7 separate regions of the Homo sapiens genome follow, and regions 1, 2, 3, 4, 5 and 6 are each linked to region 7. Evidence: promoter capture Hi-C in 16 types of primary human blood cells and fetal thymus (Javierre and others, 2016). All regions are on one chromosome and are shown on one strand. Each heading gives the region's core, a stretch centred on a gene start or on the middle of the fragment in contact. The rest is flanking DNA. Distances are from core to core; before and after follow the strand shown.

Region 1 (2,700 bases), core at 13-2,512, 1.7 Mb before region 7:
AGGTGTGAGGTACAGCATCTGGCCTCATGCTGAGATTTCTTTCATTACCAGTTCAAACACCTTTCACTTTTCAAGGCACAAGGAGAGGAATTCCATGTGTTGACACTGGGAGGAAGGGTACAGACCTACTTAAAAGATTCAAAACTTCTATGACAGTAAAAGAAATGTATATCAAGTTCCTTAGGGCTGCCGTAACAAAGTACTATCAACTGGGTGGCTTAGAACAAAAGAAATTTATTCTCTCACAGTTACGTAGGCCAGTTGAGATCAAGGTATTATCAGGGCCAAGATCCCTCTGTAGCCTCTGGGGAAGGATTCTTTCTTGCCTGTTTCCACTTCTAGCAGCTTCCTGTGTTTGGTTTGTGGCAGCATAACTCCAATCTCTGCCTCCATCTCTACCTGGCCATCATCCCTCTGTGTCTGTGAGGACCCCAGTCATTGGTTGGAGGACTCACCCTATTCCACTATAATCTCTTCTTAACCAGTGAACTCACCGTATTCCAGATAAGGTCAGGTTCACAGCTACTGAGGGTTAGGACAGAGTATCTTTTGGGGAGATGCAATTCATCCCATAAGTGGGTGGAAAAGGATGATTAACAAGTGGTATGTGGGGATGTATTGTTTTGCATCTACGTAGCTCTCACCCCATTTCTTTCCACAACACACATTTGTCACTCTATTCTTTATTAGGTTTACAGAGAAAAGTAGATCTTCAACCACTTTCCTGGGATGTGGATACAGCTCTTTTTTTGGAGACAGGGTCTCATTCTGTCACCTAGACTGGTGTGCAGTAGCACTATCATGGCTGACTACAGCCTCAATGTCCCAGGCTTAAGTGATCTTCCCAACCTCCTGAGTGGCTGGGACCACAAGTGTGTGCCACCACACCTGACTAATTTTATTTTTTAATTGTTTTGTGAAGACAGCATCTCCCTATGTTTCCCAGGCTGGTCTTGAATTCCTGGGCTCAAGCCATCCTCCTGCCTCGGCCTCCCAAAGTGCTGGGATTACAGGCAAGAGCCTCCATGCCTGGCCTTCAACTCTTGACCTTATGAACACAGCCCTATACCAGTTCCCTTCATGCATGTGCCTATAAGCTAAACCCTTTCCCAAGTGTACATGAAAATCTGAACCCCAACAAATATGGCCTAATTCTAAATCTGACTTTCCCAGGAGTAATTTTTGTCATTTCCAGCTTACCAGCCTTTGTGAGTGTTGAATTTCAGCATTTCTGTTTGCTTGCAGCAGAAGGTGGAGCCAGGATAGGGTGGCTCAAGATTAGAGTTTCTTCCTTAACAGTTCAGTCAACTTTTTAATCTTGGATTTATAGCTTCCTACCTGCTCTCTTAAAGGTGAAATGATCTATTCACCTTCAGACCATTTGCCCTCGGGGTCTCACTGAGCAATCTATGGCTTAAGTCTTCTAAGTCTCTTAATGGCCAAATACAATGGACAATTTTCAGGTATATCTGACACCATTTCTCTGCAGCCTTTGGCACCTATAACCACTCCATGGCTTCCACAATGTGATTGGTCATTTCTTTTTTGTTTATATGACAAGTTTTTATTCTTCTTCTGCCTGTTAAATGCGCCTGACCCCCAGTGTTCTGATTTTCACTATTTTTCTTAAAAAAAAAAGTTTAAATGAAAAAAGTTTCTTATGAAAATATTAAAACATATACAAAAATAGAATAGACATTGATAATAGATCCTAAAATTCCTAGGGAAATTCAGCAGACTGAGAATAGCTAATATAGTCTTCCAAAAAAAGATCAAATTTGAAGTTGAGAAACTTCTTGAATTCAATTTACTAAAAAGCTATAGTAATCAAGACAGTGTAGTCCTGACATAAAGATAGGATTATAGTCTGGGTGTGGTGGCTCATGCCTGTAATCCCAGCACTTTGGGAGGCTGAGGTGGGCAGATCACCTGAGGTCAGGAGTTCCAGACCAGCCTGACCAACATGGTGAAACCCCGTCTCTACTAAAAATACAAAAATTAACCAGGCATGGTGGCAGGTACCTGTAATCCCAGCTGCTTGGGAGGCTGAGGCAGGAGAATTGCTTGAACCTGGGAGGAGGAGCCAGTGGCCGGGATTGGGCCACTGCACTCCAACCTGGGCAATAGAGTGAGGCTCTGTCAAAAAAAAAAAAAGATAGGATTATAGATTATAGCATAATGGGATAAAATTGAGACTCCAGAAATAAACTCTCACATTTATGGTAGATTGATTTTTGATAAGGGTGCCAAAACACTTCAATGAAAAAAGAGTCTTCTCAACAAGTGATGGTGGAACAACTGAATAACCACATTTTTGTTCTATCTGGGGCCCTGATTCAAAAACCCAGGCAAAGATGGAGAGAAATCAGAACTCTCATACACTGCTGATAGGAGGATAAAATGCTTACTTTGGAAAAGAATGTGGCAATTCCTCAAAAGGTTAAACAGTGTTACCATATGACCCAGCAAACCCACTTCTAGATATATAACCAAAAGAAATCAAAACATAAGTCTACAAAAAAACTTGTACATAAATGTTTATAACAGCACTATTCCCAATAGCCATAAAGTAGAAACAAACCAATGTCCATCGGCTGATGAATGAATAAATAAAATATGTTGTGGTATGTCCTTATAATAGATATTATTGGTCCATGAAAAACATACATAAAAACATTATGCTAAATGAAAGAAGCCAGT
Region 2 (2,700 bases), core at 64-2,563, 1.6 Mb before region 7:
AAGTTTTAAAGATGACTGCATTCCGGCTGGGCTCAGTGGCTCATGCCTGTAATCCCAACACTTTGGGAGGCCAAGGAGGGCGGATCATAGGGTCAGGAGTTCGAAATCAGCCTGCCCAACATAATGAAAGCCCGTCTCTACTAAACAAATACAAAAAGTAGCCGGGCGTGGTGGTGTGCATCTGTAGTCCCAGCAACTTGGGAGGCTGAGGCAGGAGAATCGCTTGACTCCGGGAGGCAGAGGCTGCAGTGAGCCGAGATCACGCTATTGCACTCCAGCCTGGGTAACAGAGCAAGACTACGTCTCAAAAAAAAAAAAAAAAAAAAAGACTACATTCCTCTAGTGAGAATTGTGTTTGTTGGATTTCTCTTTTCAAAAGGAGCAATTAACACAGTATTCTAAAATAAACACTAAACGAAACTAAGCAGTAACGGCCTGACGCCCTAGGTCAGACCTGTAATCCCAGCAATTTGAAAGACTAAGGCAGAAGAATCGCTTGAGCCCAGGAGATCAAGACCAGCCTGGGCAATAAAGCGAGACAGCCCCCTCACCTCCACAAAAAGTAAAAAGCCTGCCCTGCCCGGTGGCTCATGCCTATAATCCCAGCACTTTGGGAGGCCGAGATGGGCGGATCACTTGAGGTCAGGAGTTCGAGGCCAGCCTGGCCAACGTGGCAAAACCCTGTTTCTACTAAACATACAAAAAAATTAGCCAGGCATGGCGGTGGGCTCCTGAAATCCCAGCTACTCGGGAGGCTGAGGCAGGAGAATCGCTTGAACCCGGGAGGCGGGGGTTGCAGTGAGCCAAGATCATGCCATTGCACTCCAGCCTGGACAATAGAGCGAGACTCCGTCGTCTCAAAAAAAAAAAAGAAAAGAAAAGAAAAAGCCTGGCCTGGTGGCTCAGTCTGAGATCTTAGATACTTGGGAGAATTACGCGGGGAAGGATTGATTGAGCCCAGGAGTTCGAAGCTGCAGCGAGCTATGGGGGGCAAAGCAAGATCCTGTTTAGGAAAGGAAAAAAAAAAAAAAACAAAAAAAACCCAGCAGCAAAAACTTAGTTTTATGACCTAAATTTATAAATGGACTACACTGTAAAGCACAATTAATTATTCAACTTTAGTAGAAATCCAGTCACATTTCTCTGTAAAAAATCTCAAATCTAATTGGATCACACACCAGGCCCTATAAAGAGAAGTGATCTGTAAATCTGATATGAAAGGTCATGGCCTGCACCAAGCCAACCACACGGAAGTCCACTGGTGGCAGACAGCCTCCTAAGCAGCTGGCCACCAAGGCAGCCAGCAAGAGCACTCTGGCCACCAGCAGCTTGAAGGTGTCCCTCAGATATAGGCCCTGAATCATGCTGAAATTCATCGCTACCAGAAGTCACTGAGCTACTTAAGGGAAAAGCTGCCCTTTCTTAAATGTTAGGACAAGGTTGCTGAATGAGATTATTAAAAAAATTAATGCCCCTAGGGTTCTAAATAATTGCAGTTATATGTGTTCCACTGAACAGAAGTTATTGGCATCACAAATAATTTGCATCAAAAATAATTTCTGGTGATACAAATAACAGAAATTATTTGCATCACCAGACAAAAGCCTCCAAGAAGTAACTTCGATAGTTTGATACCTTTAATCAATGGTAAATTGTGAGATGATGTAAGCACATTTCCCTGCAAACTTTGTAAAAACTATAAATTTTTTATAGTGGGATACATTCTTCCCCCTCCCTTTTTTCCTCACAAGTCTTACAATGTTTCTTAAATAAAATTTTCACTAAAACACGATTAAAATATAGCAATTGCAAGATAAATGTCTATGAAGCCCCATAGTATAACTCCCTGACATTCTTTACTCAATCAAATTGGGGCTCAGAAACAATACCCCAAAATGAAGGCCAAAGAAGCAACCTCAGAAGCAAAATTTTTCTGTGACTTTCTCCTGCCCTCTTGTCTCTCAGTCCCATTCTCCCCTGAGGCTAGACATAGAAACTAGAATTCCGGTTTCCCAAGGTGGCTTATGACAACCAGAATCCTTTTTCCCCAAAGCCAACCACAAAAACTAAAAATATTACTCTAACTTCCCTTCCAACTTTTCGTGTAAAAACTGGACACAGAGAAATTATTTGATCCACCTTGTTTAATTGCAGGTCATAAGACCCCATTCCAGAGATGGAGCTGTCCCATACCCAATACCCAGAAGGAAGGAATGCATGTTCAAAGAGGTGAGGGATGAAATGAAAATTCTAAACCCCTTTGACAGAATAATGGACCCTCCTTTGGCTAAAAGACCCCAAAAGTTTAAGTTCCCAGGCATGACAGGATGGAGGCTGCACATCCTGTTTGTTTCTACCCCTCTTCCCCTTTCTAATCACTGCTAGATTTTCTCAAAGTCCGATTTGAGGGAATAATACACCGGAAAGCCCTTTTACTTACTTTATCTGGCCTCTTCCACCCTCCTCCATGGTGGTCCAGACAAGACAGATATTAAGGACCATAGAGTTTCTTGATAAATGACTGCAGGCCCACAACTGGTTGTGACCAGTCTCCTGAGAATGCAGATCATGGACTTCTGCCCTACATTTCAGTTTTATATATAGGACCTAATTATAACTCATTTAAATGTTAAATCTTCACCCCAAAGTGATCATGGGACATATCTTACATACATGTAAACCTAATACACATCTGATTGG
Region 3 (2,700 bases), core at 143-2,642, 1.7 Mb before region 7:
AAGGGAGAGTCCTCTAGGAGATACAGTGTATGTGCTAAGTTTAATGACGTCTCCTCTTCATTCTCCCCCACCCAGCGCCTAGTCCTTACTGGCCTTCAGTTCAGTGTTCGAAGGCTTGTCAATTTACCCAGCAGTTAAGAGTTGGCTTCTCCTAAAGCAACTTTCAAACTTGTCTGCATGTTACAAGCCCCCTACGGAGATTTTAAGTTTCAATCAGGCAACACACCATTTATGGCTGACTGAGCACTGGGATTCAAGCAAAATTTGATTTGATTTGAATCTTGAATAAACCAGTTGAATAGAATAAGATGTATGAAGCAACATCTGGCGCAGTGCTTACATCTTTAGTTCTGTACTGCCTTAGTGTTGTTATCAAAACTGACGCATATTAGGTTAAAAGACTATTACCGGGGCAGTTGGAAACCCAGGAGACACACCCTTCAGTATACTACGAAGGTGTGCGCCACGAAAACAGAGGGGGAGTCCTTCCTTAGGCAGTTACTGCCCAGGTTCCCACTCCGGTCCGCTATGTAAATCAGAGTCTCAAAACAGCTTTCCCTCGATTGGTTAATATTTAAAATGACAGGACAGCCTATTGGCTAGAAGCTGGTGGCGAAATTATGACATTACGGCAACCGTTGATCCTGGCGACGTAGACAGGGACAGACAGCTGGGTCTGAAACCTAAGCGAGCCTGCGGTTTCTTCCGGGAACGCCGAGTTAGCAAAATGGCCGCTTGTCTCCATTTTAAATTTAAGCACAACGAATTGACCCCAAAGCCATTTTTAATGGCTGGCTTCTTTCGGGTTCAGGACCCTTTGTCCCTCTCTAAGCTGCAACACTTGTCCCCACCCCTCTCCAGTTCCTATATTCTAATACCCCTCCGCCGCCAAATAAAATTTGGCGTCTGGCCACAGCTCTTTTAGTGGGTATCTGGGTGGCTCTTAAAAGAGCCTTTGGGGTTAGGTGTTAAGACGCTTACTTGGAATGTTTACTTGGAGCTGGTGTACTTGGTGACGGCCTTGGTGCCCTCCGACACGGCGTGCTTGGCCAGCTCTCCGGGAAGCAGCAGGCGCACGGCCGTCTGGATCTCCCTGGAGGTGATGGTCGAGCGCTTGTTGTAATGCGCCAGGCGGGAAGCCTCGCCCGCGATGCGCTCAAATATGTCGTTAACGAAAGAATTCATGATGCCCATGGCCTTGGAAGAGATGCCAGTGTCGGGATGGACCTGTTTCAGCACCTTGTACACGTACACAGAGTAACTCTCCTTGCGGCTGCGCTTGCGCTTCTTGCCATCTTTCTTCTGCGCTTTGGTCACTGCCTTCTTGGAGCCCTTCTTCGGGGCGGGAGCAGACTTGGCTGGCTCAGGCATCTTAAAACACCAGAAATGTGTCGAAAGTAAAGAGCGGATTTCTGCTACTTATAGGGCTTTTATGCTAATGAGGGATGGAGAGTACCTCTTAGTTAATTGGAAGACAAACTGCACAGTTGTCATCCGTGGGCAGAGCTATGCAAATGAGGTATGAAAGTACAGCTTTTCTATTGGCTATCTGACTAGCATTTGCTACCGACCAATCAAAAAGTCGGATTTACTCCCCAGGAACTACCTATAAAAGCGGCCATGTTTTACATATTTCTTGATTTTGTTTGTTTTCTCGTGAGCTTAGGCCGCTGGTTTTGGTGATTTTTGTCTGATTGCAATGTCTGGACGTGGTAAGCAAGGAGGCAAAGCTCGCGCCAAAGCGAAATCCCGCTCTTCTCGCGCTGGTCTCCAGTTCCCGGTGGGCCGAGTGCACCGCCTGCTCCGTAAAGGCAACTACGCAGAGCGGGTTGGGGCAGGCGCGCCGGTGTACCTGGCGGCGGTGTTAGAGTACCTGACCGCCGAGATCCTGGAGCTGGCCGGCAACGCGGCTCGCGACAACAAGAAGACTCGCATCATCCCGCGCCACTTGCAGCTGGCCATCCGCAACGACGAGGAGCTCAACAAACTGCTAGGCCGGGTGACCATTGCTCAGGGCGGCGTCCTTCCTAACATCCAGGCCGTGCTTCTGCCTAAGAAGACCGAGAGTCACCACAAGGCCAAGGGCAAGTGATTTGACAGGTATCTGAGCTCCCGGAAACGCTATCAAACCCAAAGGCTCTTTTCAGAGCCCCCCTACCGTTTCAAAGGAAGAGCTAACCTCACTGCTTGTAGGTAGAAGGAAAAAAGGCACTAAGGTAAGTTAATTTTATGCCAACCTTGAGCAAAGCGTATTACTGCTTTTCGGTTTTTGGGGAGCGCTGTTACTAAAGGTTGGTCTGTTTGTATGTAATAGTAGGTCAGTTACGTACTATCATACTCTAAAGAAATATTCTAGTTAATGCTTTGTAAGATCGACCATAGTTAGTGCCTAACAGTTTACATGCAGGGATGCCTCGTGATCTAAACACTTCGTTGTGATTACTTTAAAAATGTAAATTGAAGGCAAAACTCTAACGTGTTGGTAACCTTGTTTGGTCCTCCGACTAGTCCCCCGTCTATTTTTTTCTCAATTTAGGCTGTAGGCAGCCTCACTTTCCTAATTCTGTGAGAGTTATAGGTCCCATTCCTGCTAAAGTGCAGAGTATATTACCTAAAAGTTAACCAGGGAGTTGAAAGGTGTCTGTAAAACAGACTAATGTCCCTAATGTAGAACGGTGCCTGACATGCAACTTACTCTTG
Region 4 (2,700 bases), core at 93-2,592, 1.7 Mb before region 7:
TCCAGCATCAAGGAGGTCTGAGTGGATAAGGCCTAAGCACTGATGTGGCTTTGGTAATGAACCTGAAGTTAAAAACTGGTTAGCTTATGCTAAGCTGCCATTTGAAAGGTCTCCTCCAGCATCTGAATTAAGGGAAACAATGTTTTGAAGCAGTCACAAAACTTTTCTGATGCATTAGATCTGAGGTAGGACCTGATAATTTGTACTTCTAAATTATGCAGGTGATGCTGATGCTGCTGGTCCGGAGACCACTTTGGAGAGTTTTACTTTAAAGGAAATGAAACTGCCCTAAAATGCTAATACTAAATAGCCACACAAAGCCGGAAAAAAGCAAAGAATTTCAAACCGAAGATGAGAGGTCCTGAAAAATAACAGCGGTCATCCTACTCCCGGTGCGGCTATGCGGCCATGAAAAGGAGTCTTGGGGCCGGTCGTGCCCCTCCACGCAGGCTCCCTCATAGGGTCATCCCATCAACCCTCGCCAAAAACGCCGGCCCCCTCATAGGGCCGTCCGGCCACGCCCCTCCGTGCCCTAACCACAGAGCCACACGTTACGCCGCCGCCCCGTTACGCCCATCCGGCTCCCGCATAGGGCGTCACGTACGTTTAACGTCGGCCCGGCGCGCGCGTCCGGGAGGTTGCCCGTAGGCCGCTAACTGGTGGTTCCCAGTCCCCGCCGACTCGGCCTCTTTCTTCTGCGGCCACCAGATCGCGGGATATCGGAGACTTCGAACAATCCGCTGGAGTCCTTTACAGTTTAAAAACAGAGGACCGGCCGGGCGCGGTGGCTCACGCCTGTAATCCCAGCACTTTGGGAGGCCGAGGCGGGCGGATCACGAGTTCAGGAGATAGAGACCATCCTGGCTAACACCGTGAGACCCCGTCCCTATCAAAAGTACAAAAAAATTAGCCGGGTGTGGTGGCACGCGCCTGTAGTCCCAGCTACTCAGGAGGCTGAGGCAGAAGAATCGCTAGAACCAGGGAGGCGGAGGTTGCAGTGACCGAGATCGCGCCGCTGCACTCCAGCCTAGGCGACAGAGCGAGACTGCGTCTCAAAACAAAAAAAACGGAGGATCGAAAATTTTGAAGACTGAGAGCAAGGCAACAATCTTCCCTTGACCTTTTTGCTCCTCTCACAAGGGTTTTTCAGACGGCTGAAACCAACGAAAAGAGTGAGGAAGCAGGCAGAAAATTTCAGCTTTAGTCTCTCAGCATCCTCCTGCTTTCTTCTCGGGGAGCTGGCACTTCCCCCTTCTCTAGTAGCTGTAAATACGCCTCCCAACTCCAAGGAGACCTTTCTTGCATCTCCCTTACTGTTCTCACGCCTGTAGGGCTCTTCGTGTGAGGATTCAGTGTATGTATGTATGTATATGAATGTGTGCGAATAATTATTTCCTAATTGAGTTTTTTTTTAAAAAAATCATCTTCCGGTACACGCAGTGCCGTACTCCATTAAACAGCAGGCACGGTGTCTAGGGTCCGCAGTTCTTTTGGAGGCTCATGAAAATATTTTAATTTCTTCTAAAGTCAGAAGGAAAAAAATGAACATTTAAGTCGAAGAAGATGTTACATATTAATCTTCATATGACTTTAATTTTTTTTTTTTTTTTTTTGAAACGGAGTCTCGCTCTGTCCCCCAGGCTGGAGTACAGTGGCGCAGTCTCGGCTCACTGCAAGCTCTGCCTCCCGGGTTCACGCCATTCTCCTGCCTCAGCTTCCCGAGTAGCTGGGACTACAGTCACCACGCCCGACTAAGTTTTTTTGTATTTTTTAGTAGAGACGGGGTTTCACCGTGTTAGCCAGGATGGTCTCGATCTCCTGACCTCGTGATCCGCCCGCCTCGGCCTCCCAAAGTGCTGGGATTACAGGCGTGAGCCACAACGCCTGGCCTATGCCCACTAATTCCAATTCTTATTTGATCTAATTGTTTATAGATTCTTGTGAACTTTTACCTTGACAATTATGTTATTTTCAAAGATAATCATCTTTTCCTATTGAATCCTTGCTCTTCTGACTGCCTGTTCCTATCTCATGGTATTGGCCAAACCCTGTGATGCCGTGTTGAATAGGAGTACTTTCTCACCACACTTGTCTTCCTTCCGCCTCTATGGGAATCCTTCCAAAACGGCACCATTAAGTGTTATACTCGCTGTAGCTCCTCCTTATGAAGTTCTCTTCTCATTGTAGTCTGTTAAGTGTTTATGATTAAAGAGTGTTATATTTTGTTAAATGCTTTCGCAGTATCTTTGGAGATGATCATGTTTTTTCTTTATTAATCTCTTTTTTATTTTATTTATTTTATTTTATTTTATTTTATTTTTTATTATTTTAGTTTTTATTTTGAGATGGAATCTCACTCTGTCTCCCAGGCTGGAGTGCAGTGCCCTGATCTAAGCTCATTACAACCTCTACCTCCCAGGTTCAAGCGATTCTTCTGCCTCACTTTCCCAAGTAACAGGGACTACAGGTGCGTGCCACCACATCTGGCTAAGTTTTGTATTATCAGAAGAAGATAGGCCGCCATTGGCCAGGCTGGCCTTGAACTCCTGACATTAAGTGATCCACCTGCCTCAGCCTCCTAAAGTGCTAGGAATACAGGCGTGAGCCACTGCTCTGGGCCTTCCTTTATTAATTTCTTAAACTGGCAGATTTAGAATACTAAACTTCCTTCTATTCTTAGAATAAACCCTATATAATCAG
Region 5 (2,700 bases), core at 188-2,687, 1.5 Mb before region 7:
TATATGTAGGCTGTTGACATTATCTTCAAATGAAGTACTTGACTTCACAGAGATTCACTGACAGGCTTGAAAGAAGCCACACAAAATAGAACTTTATATGCCATGATGGGGCCAAGAGCGCTACGGAACATTATAAATTCTATAAATATCTTCTCCATAGTATGATGCTAATGCATTACATTTTCGTGTTGATTCATCTATTAAATGTAAAAATTGTTAATAATAAAAATTTTTGCATTTCTATTTCGTGTTCCTTCACTTCTTAATATATGGGAACCTCAAAAACTGGTAATGGCTCTAGTCCGCTCGGCACTCCTGAGAAACCCCAAGGAAAGTATTTTCTTTCCTTTCTAAACAGAACCATACCACGAAAAGTGCTCTGATATCACATTATCACAATCAGAGAAAGTACCAGAACAGCATGGAGAGGGGGTAATTGTCTCCGGGGTCTGCAGATATCCATGCAGGATGGCGAGAAAGACCACGGTACAGATGTTGCCTTGTGGTAAAACTGCCTTCCAGGTACAGTTTTCTTAACAACTATCTGGGCAGACCCTGCAAGAACCTAGTCTGTAAATGGTGAATGTGGATGAGCATCATAGGGAAGAAACCTTGAGTAAGCTTATTTTAACATATCCTTCGATGCAGACAATATGCAGAATTTTAGCATCTTTTAGATGCCATAAACTCCGCTTCTTCTGCCTTGGGAGTCAGAACAAACGACTTTTCTCTCCAAGGAGTAGTTATATTACCACAAGACTAAAATAATTGTCGATACCAACCGTTTATAAATCCCGATTCTGTGGCCCCAAATATCCCACCTAATCTAAAGTTTTCATTTTCTCATTGGCGAAAACACGGGCGCTGTAGATGCCAACACGGGGGGTTGGAGGGGGCGGGTGGGGGGAAGCTCGTTTTATTTTCTAAGTATTGCAGCAACAACGGAACTGCGGGGGACCACGTGGCCTAATGGATAAGGCGTCTGACTTCGGATCAGAAGATTGAGGGTTCGAATCCCTTCGTGGTTAAGTGGGGTTCGTTTTCGGGCATGAAAATTTTATTACCCATTTCATTCCAAGAAAAAAATAAATCATACACTCTCTGGGTTTTCTGAATCCTTTTTTTCTTCCATCTCCTCTCCTTTAAAGGGAAGAAGGAGACATTCTCAAAGGCCTTAGGAGAACAAGTGACAGAGTGAAGAAAGACTGGAAAGTCAAAACTGAAATACAGCCATCTACTACTTTGGAGCTGTCAGGTTCTCCCCAAGTTTGGATTTTAAGCACCTGCGTTTCGGTTTTGTAGGCTTAGATTCAATTCAAGGATTCAATTCCTTGAAAAAAAGAAATTCAGATCTATAAGCCAAGCTGTCTCAAACTGTAGCGTCTCAGACTAATGCCAGGCCCCAGTGGCTAGCACAGTAGGAAACCTGTTGCTTCTTCTGATTTAGCACTAGGCCAAAAACTCTTCACATTTCTTTTTTAGTCTACATCCGCGTGTACCAAGGAGTTTTGGCAGCTGCTGAAGCCTATGTTACTAGTTCTTACTCTCCATTTTAACTTTTTTGTTGTGGGTGTGTTGCCATCAAAAGGATGAGAATACCTAATATTGAATTTTATATTGCAAAGCAAAAATATAAAGGTAATTAAAATAGTCCAACTGGTTACAGTGTGTGTGTGCAAACAGGAAAAGACAGGGAACACAGCTGTGCAAAATATATAAAAAACATTTTGTATTCCTAAATAACATTTTGTGTGCCTGAATTTAATAATAATTTAGGATTAAGGAAAAGTAATTTCCAATTGCTGACATCATGATGAAACATAAGACATTTGACTCCATCCAGATGAGATCATTGATTCAAATCACATGGAGTCCATAAGTGTGTTTCTAGATCAAAGCAAAGAATATTAAAATTAGTAATAATTACCTCTCCCTGTCCCCAGCTTCTTCCATAGCTCTGTTTGATTCTGGTTTCCTCTAGTCATCTGTAGATTCCAAGTTGTATAAAAAATGTGGGGATTGAGCATTGGTTTCCAGACTTTGAAATTTATTGGATTAGAAAGTGTCAATGTCCTAATGTCATGCAAAACCATGTTCTGCCTTGTTAATGGCAAAACCCACCATTTGCACTGAGCATCCTTTTATAAACTAGAAAAAGGATATAACCTCAAAAGAAGAGTAACCTTTTAAAATGAATACAGTGATACTTGAGAATTACATAGCCCACCTTTTTTCTTGATTCTAAGAACAGGAAAAAGCTTCCTCCTCTCTCTCTGATCAGTATGTAACCCTGTGTACCAGAGGATGAACAAGACTTTTTCCAGGGGCCCCACAGCCTCCCTCAAGCATTTAATGAAAGTGGAAATTCTGATGCAAGAATATAAAAATTTGCCTGTCATAACCCTTTCTCTCTTCTTTTTCTTTCTTTCTCTACTGCACTGATAGCAAAGAATGCCAAAAGGAGGAGAGAGACTTTCCAGACTGGGAAGTGCCAAAAGGGAGAAAACTGAAAAAGATAGGGAAATCTGTGGACATCCTGAGTCTTAAATGGTCACCGTGATTTAGGAACTTGTCCCAAATCCACCAAATAAAAATATATGCACCCTTTGATGAATGTGTAAGCCTTTCTGCTTTGAGAGTGGGATTCAGAAAATAAATAAATAAATAACATGAAAAACATCTTTTGGAGCTGGATTAAAA
Region 6 (2,700 bases), core at 41-2,540, 1.6 Mb before region 7:
ACTGAAATACAAATGTGGTTTATAAAAAAGCTAAACTTATAGAATTGGATTAGTAGGACCCCACAATTCCAGTAGGGAAGCATTTTATAGGTTTCTGGAGGCAGGGGCGGTGCATCATTATGGATATCATTTTCAACAGTGATAGTCACAAGCATACTCTAAGTATTTTTTTTTGGGACCATAGCTTTATATTGCCTAGACGTAAAGGTACAATTAAAATTCAGATTGTTTACTGTTTATTATTTTGATCATTATTGTAGTCTTAATAGTTGTTGAATAATTGTTGGAATTGTTCACCGTGTTAGATATAGTCAATTAACAGATGCCACCATTTCATTCTTGTGCAACACTGACTGGTTCCCATAGCTACTTAGGATCTCAGTAAGTAAAAAGGCATTGGGCTAACTAATCTCTGCTCTTTCTGGAGGGCAATAACTGAGACTCAGTTTCACCAACAAAGTTCGCCAGATGTTCAAAGAGGAAAGGGGCTAGGCTACATAAGTTGGGACCTGGTACTTATCTTCTCTGTAATTGTAGCAAGGACAAGGTTCCTGAAAGCTGGATCACCCCATGGACTGTAAACTTGAAGTCCTGCAAAGTTTCACCTATTACTTTGGTAGCCCTCAAAAAGAGTTCTGTGTTGCTTTGGAATCCTAAATCTGAATATAATCTAAAACAGTAGATTTCCCATTACACTGAGGTTGGAACCATTTATTTTATAGATGCAAAAAGTAGCTAGGAAAAACTAGTTAGATAAGTGATAGCTATCTAACTTAAGGCCCAGTGTTCTCTTCATTTTGTGTTAACTCCCCCATCCCCACCACCACCATAGTAAATGACTATGAGAGTTGTAGGTAGTATTCAATAGATCAATCCAGTGACACTGTGCTTAAGCATCACACAATTCAGATTTTAAAGATTTCCAAAAAAAAAAAAAGAAACTATATAGAATAAATATTAAAAGGGGTGAAAACATATATAGACTATTATAGAAAATAAAGCTTTGTGTTAGAATCAAACGTGTTCAAAAAGTCCATGAGAAATCACATCGATTGTAACCGTCTATGAGGTAGTCTTACCTGAGGACACTGGCTCCTTGAAATTCCTCTTCAAGTACAACAGTATTGTGTTAATTTTATTTCCTAAGAAGGCCACTACTATACTCAAACTTACAGTTTTCTCTTTACATGTCTCAGGCATCCACCAAACTCCCTCCTCCCTTCTAGACTGGATTAGAAGCTCTTCAGAAGAAACCCCCTTATCACAGATACAGCCCAATAAAACTTTCTGCGATGATAAAAATATTCTGTATTAACACTGTCCAATAGGTAGCCACTAACCATATGTGGCTACTGAGTACCGTAATGTGGCTAGAGTAAGTGTGCAAATTAATTTTTAATTTAAATTAATTTAAATAAAAATGAGCACATGTTGCTAGTGGCTAATATAGGACAGCAGAGCTTTAAAACAATTATTCTCAAACTTGGAAGAGCATACCTACCACCCACTTAGAGATCTCATTAAAAATGTAATATCAATTCCATTGATTTGGGGTTGGGCCCGAAATTCTGTATGTCTAACAAGCTTCAGAGTGATGCCAGTATAGCTGGGATATGGCTGCTCCGCCCTTAAATACCTGACAGTAAGTAGAAGTATGCTGGTCTGATATCTGCCCCCTAACCCTGAGTGTACTTTTCCCTTTACTAAACTTTTGAGTTCTTTAAGAGAATAAATGTGATTATCTTTGTAAACCTGGTATTTGTACACTATTCTTGGCATGTAGTGGACATTAAATTGTTGAATGAATGAATGATGCTTGTTTGGTGCCTACCTCAAAAAGGAGAGCACTTGAGATCCTTGTGTCTATTCCTACAGGTAACTGAACCTAAGCCAAAATTTAAGTAGACTCTTAACTCCACAAAATGAATAATCTTCTCACTGCTTTTAGGCACCAGCAGAGACGGGATTTTTAAGTTACCCTTGCAGTATATAGGAGGCAATGAATGTGAAGCAGTAGACTGTAAGAGTTAATGTTGAATTTTTCTACTACACATACCCTATGATCTGTGTGTAGAACACTTCTTCCGGAATCTTTTATTAGGACAGTATTTCACAGAATTTATTAGTATTATTTTTGTTAATTTACAAACCTTTATTCACCATGATTTACCATGTATGCTTTAGTGGCATGAAAGCAGTGGTAGGTAGCAAGGTAGTGAGACTCCAGAATCGAGCCAACAATACAATGCCATTTATTAGAGGATAATGTCTTCAAGCCTGGGATTCCTTATCTTTACACCTCAGATATTGCATTATACATTGAAAAACTAAGAATGAAACTTCAATTAATATTGGTTTCCCTTACTAGAGGTCTTTCTTTATTAGGAATGCCAAAAACGATGTGAATGTATATGTCTCTGCCAAACGCTAAGTCTCATGATTGGCCAAATTTAAGAAGTATTGCTACATTTTAAGAATTAATAAAAATGGCCGGGCGTGGTGGCTCACGCCAGTAATCCCAGCACTTTGTGAGGCCAAGGTGGGTGGATCACCTGAAGTCAGGAGTTCGAGACCACCCTGGCCAACATGGCGAAACCCCGTCTTTACTAAGAAAATACAAAAATTACCCAGGTGTGGCGACGCGTGCCTGAAATCACAGCTACTCGTGAGGCTGAGGCATGAGAATCGCTTGAACCCAGA
Region 7 (2,700 bases), core at 116-2,615:
GGAAAGTTTTTTGTTTAAATACCAACAGGTTCCTTCCTTAAAGCAATTATTATTTTTCAAATCTAACCCACAAGGTGATAGTATCCTTAAACCAATTAAATCAGAATCTCGGGTTGGATAACCTCAAATATGACTTATTAGCACTTCCCATTAATCACTGGTCCTTCAGGCCTTTAAGTTTACTTACTAGGAATCTCACTTTTAATACCATCTTATCAACTTCAGTTGTAAATAAGAGAACACTCAAAGGCTGAGGAATTCTCAGCGGTAAAGCTCTGCCCACGTTAAGTAACAAAGGATAAGTTAGTCTTTGTTGTGATCACTTTGTTGTACTGATAAGCTACGTATTTCTACTCAAGGATTCAAATTCTCACCTTTCTCAAGAATTGGGCCAAAACCGATAAACTAAACTTATTTACGGTCCACTGATTAAAGGTTGTTGCATAATAAGTTCTTGCTATGTTCAGCAGTTGGATTCACAGCGCCAGAAACCTATAACTGCTTGACTTTCCTCCCCACTACACTGCGAAAATTGCCCCTTAAATGTAACTAACCCTAAAACCTCAACAGTATCGTGGCCAGGCGTGGTGGCTCACTACTGTAATACCAACATTAGGCATAGGCGAGGGGATTGAGGCCAGGATATCGAAACTAGCCTGGGAAACACACGGAGACCCGGTCTTTGGAAAAATAATTAGCCTTGCGTGGTGGTGGGCGCGAGGTTCCGGCTAATCGGGAGGCTACAGTGAGCCATGATGACACTGCACTACAGTCTGCGCGACGGCCCATGTCAGTAAGCTCTGGAGCACCTGAAACAAGTTGTGTTGGGTATTTTATTTACTGGAGAGCGATTAGTGACTGATGCCTACTTACAGCGACTAGAGACGCATGCTCCGATAGCAGCACAAACTCAGCAGGCGCGAACAAATGGTAAAGAGAAACTGGGCAAACAAGCATCACGGCTCCTCAGCTGAGAAAGTGGGGGCCCTAAAAAGGGCCTTTTGTTGATAGAAAGGGACGCTCAACCACCGAAACCGTAGAGGGTGCGGCCCTGGCGCTTGAGCGCGTAGACCACATCCATGGCGGTGACCGTCTTGCGCTTGGCGTGCTCTGTATAGGTCACGGCGTCCCGGATCACGTTCTCCAGGAACACCTTCAGCACCCCGCGAGTCTCCTCGTAGATGAGGCCGGAGATGCGCTTCACGCCGCCGCGGCGAGCAAGGCGCCGGATGGCCGGCTTGGTGATGCCCTGGATATTGTCGCGCAGTACTTTACGGTGGCGCTTAGCGCCGCCTTTGCCAAGACCCTTCCCGCCTTTGCCGCGGCCAGACATGACGAGCAAGAGGAGTCTCACCCAACGCTTTGTGAGGACTCTGGCCTGAGGCAGCGCCTTTATACGACAGTTGGCGGACCGAACTGAGAACCTGAAAGAAGTCGGCGGGAAGTCCCGCCCCGGTGGGGGAGGGGAAATCTAAAGGGCCAAACCGAAATAGGGGGAAAAAAAAAGCGAGCTTCTTGTTTCCGTGTTCTGAATTTTGTAACGTGCATAGTATTTTGTTACCACGTTATGAGGCTTTAAAAAATTGCTTTTGAACGCAGAAGATATACATCAATACTGTGGGAAATACAAGAAAGGACAAGAAATTAAGAAACTACAATGTTATCCCATCACACAGGCTAGTTAATCATGTATTTTGCAGAGCAGTTGCACATATTTTTCCAAGAAAATGTATACAGTGTTGTATATGGAGTTTTGTAACCTCCTTATATTGATTATAATTTAACCAATTTCTATTAAAGAGATAAAAGTGATGTTTTGGTGTCTATGTTTCTTAGGAATTATCAATAGTTATAATCAGTTCCCCAGCAATTTTTTAATCGGCTGTATTTTAAAAATAATGTTTTCCACATTCAACATAAATGTACTTTTTCTCTATACTTGGGACCAATATTGAAATTTATGATTTTATTACACCAAAATTTAAATTTTATTACATTAATATTTAAAATTGTATTAGAGGTCTCATGATTTGGTACTACGGGTCTCCGCATTATTTCCTTTCCAAATTTCCTAATCTGTTTCACCAAGGTTTCTGGACAACTTTAGAGACCTTTTGTGAAGTTTGAATAAAATCTCTTCGAGATTTTGATAATTGCATTAGCTTTAGGACTTAATTGGAATAGAATTAAAATCCTTAAAACAAGCTCTTATAACTAGAAAATTGGTGTTTGTAGGTTTTGTGTGTGGGGTTTTTTTTTTTTTTTGGAAGGAGTCTCGCTCTGTCGTCAGGCCGGAGGGCAGTGGTGCAATCTCGGCTCACTGCAACCTCCACCTCCCGGGTTCAAGCGATTCTCATGCCTCAACCTCCGGATTAGCGCGGACTACAGGCATGCGCCACCACGCCCAGCTAATTTTTTGTATTTTTAGTAAAGAACAAGTTTCACCATGTTGGACAGGATGCTCTTGATCTCTTGACATCGTGATCCGCCCGCCTCAGCCTCCCAAAGTGCTGGGATTACAGGCGTGAGCCGCTTCGCTTGGACGCTTGTAGGTTTTTAAAAAGACACTTTTATATGACCCAACTAAAGATTTGTTATCAACCATTATGGAGCAACTTTGATTCCGTATATTTGATTTTCTTTCTTATTAATAAATACAGGGTTATACTCTGAATTTTTTTTTTTTTTTTTTTTTTTGTG

The links. Contacts are between HindIII fragments. The CHiCAGO score rates a contact against its expected background, and 5 or more counts as called.
Region 1: a fragment that was not itself captured here is called in contact with the fragment with the promoter of H4C12 in region 7 in 6 of 17 cell types (monocytes, non-activated CD4 T cells, total CD4 T cells and 3 more); the score reaches 10.6 in monocytes.
Region 2: a fragment that was not itself captured here is called in contact with the fragment with the promoter of H4C12 in region 7 in 16 of 17 cell types (fetal thymus, total B cells, neutrophils and 13 more); the score reaches 32.8 in fetal thymus.
Region 3: the fragment with the promoter of H2BC4 here is called in contact with the fragment with the promoter of H4C12 in region 7 in 15 of 17 cell types (monocytes, M0 macrophages, total CD4 T cells and 12 more); the score reaches 22.9 in monocytes.
Region 4: the fragment with the promoter of H2BC6-AS1 here is called in contact with the fragment with the promoter of H4C12 in region 7 in 15 of 17 cell types (erythroblasts, naive CD8 T cells, activated CD4 T cells and 12 more); the score reaches 24.1 in erythroblasts.
Region 5: a contact is called between a fragment that was not itself captured here and the fragment with the promoter of H4C12 in region 7, in 5 of 17 cell types (naive B cells, non-activated CD4 T cells, total B cells and 2 more). The highest score is 7.0, in naive B cells.
Region 6: a contact is called between a fragment that was not itself captured here and the fragment with the promoter of H4C12 in region 7, in 16 of 17 cell types (fetal thymus, erythroblasts, non-activated CD4 T cells and 13 more). The highest score is 28.8, in fetal thymus.

What each region holds. Positions count from the first base shown.
Region 1 is chr6:26,082,385-26,085,084 of GRCh38, forward strand. No RefSeq gene overlaps it. Among named protein-coding and RNA genes, the nearest start is that of HFE, 3.7 kb to the right of the region's middle. The HindIII fragment of the contact is 4,963 bases long and covers 1-2,700 here.
Region 2 is chr6:26,217,821-26,220,520 of GRCh38, forward strand. It overlaps the pseudogene H3C5P. Among named protein-coding and RNA genes, the nearest start is that of H2AC8, 2.2 kb to the left of the region's middle. The HindIII fragment of the contact is 3,747 bases long and covers 1-2,700 here.
Region 3 is chr6:26,122,534-26,125,233 of GRCh38, forward strand. H2BC4 (H2B clustered histone 4) reads right to left here and starts at 1,393. Exons shown (of 1, transcript NM_003526.3): 1 at 934-1,393. The coding sequence starts at 1,371. The coding sequence ends at 991. It overlaps H2AC6 (H2A clustered histone 6), which reads left to right and starts at 1,639. Exons shown (of 1, transcript NM_003512.4): 1 at 1,639-2,157. The coding sequence starts at 1,700. The coding sequence ends at 2,092. RefSeq lists enhancers at 1-184, 185-870, 318-1,517, 566-1,305, 1,549-2,700 and 3 more and a silencer at 1,177-1,542. The HindIII fragment of the contact is 15,442 bases long and covers 1-2,700 here.
Region 4 is chr6:26,171,431-26,174,130 of GRCh38, forward strand. It overlaps H2BC6-AS1 (H2BC6 antisense RNA 1), which reads right to left and starts at 1,343. Exons shown (of 3, transcript NR_186648.1): 1 at 605-1,343. RefSeq lists an enhancer at 417-1,309. The HindIII fragment of the contact is 22,011 bases long and covers 1-2,700 here.
Region 5 is chr6:26,298,722-26,301,421 of GRCh38, forward strand. TRR-TCG4-1 (tRNA-Arg (anticodon TCG) 4-1) reads left to right here and starts at 956; the gene lies at 956-1,028. LOC124901287 (a long non-coding RNA gene) reads left to right here. Exons shown (of 2, transcript XR_007059520.1): 2 at 1-243. The HindIII fragment of the contact is 1,637 bases long and covers 620-2,256 here.
Region 6 is chr6:26,236,931-26,239,630 of GRCh38, forward strand. No RefSeq gene overlaps it. Among named protein-coding and RNA genes, the nearest start is that of H4C6, 2.1 kb to the right of the region's middle. The HindIII fragment of the contact is 583 bases long and covers 1,000-1,582 here.
Region 7 is chr6:27,830,195-27,832,894 of GRCh38, forward strand. H4C12 (H4 clustered histone 12) reads right to left here and starts at 1,366. Exons shown (of 1, transcript NM_003541.3): 1 at 980-1,366. The coding sequence starts at 1,333. The coding sequence ends at 1,022. RefSeq lists enhancers at 817-926, 850-1,675. The HindIII fragment of the contact is 8,845 bases long and covers 1-2,700 here.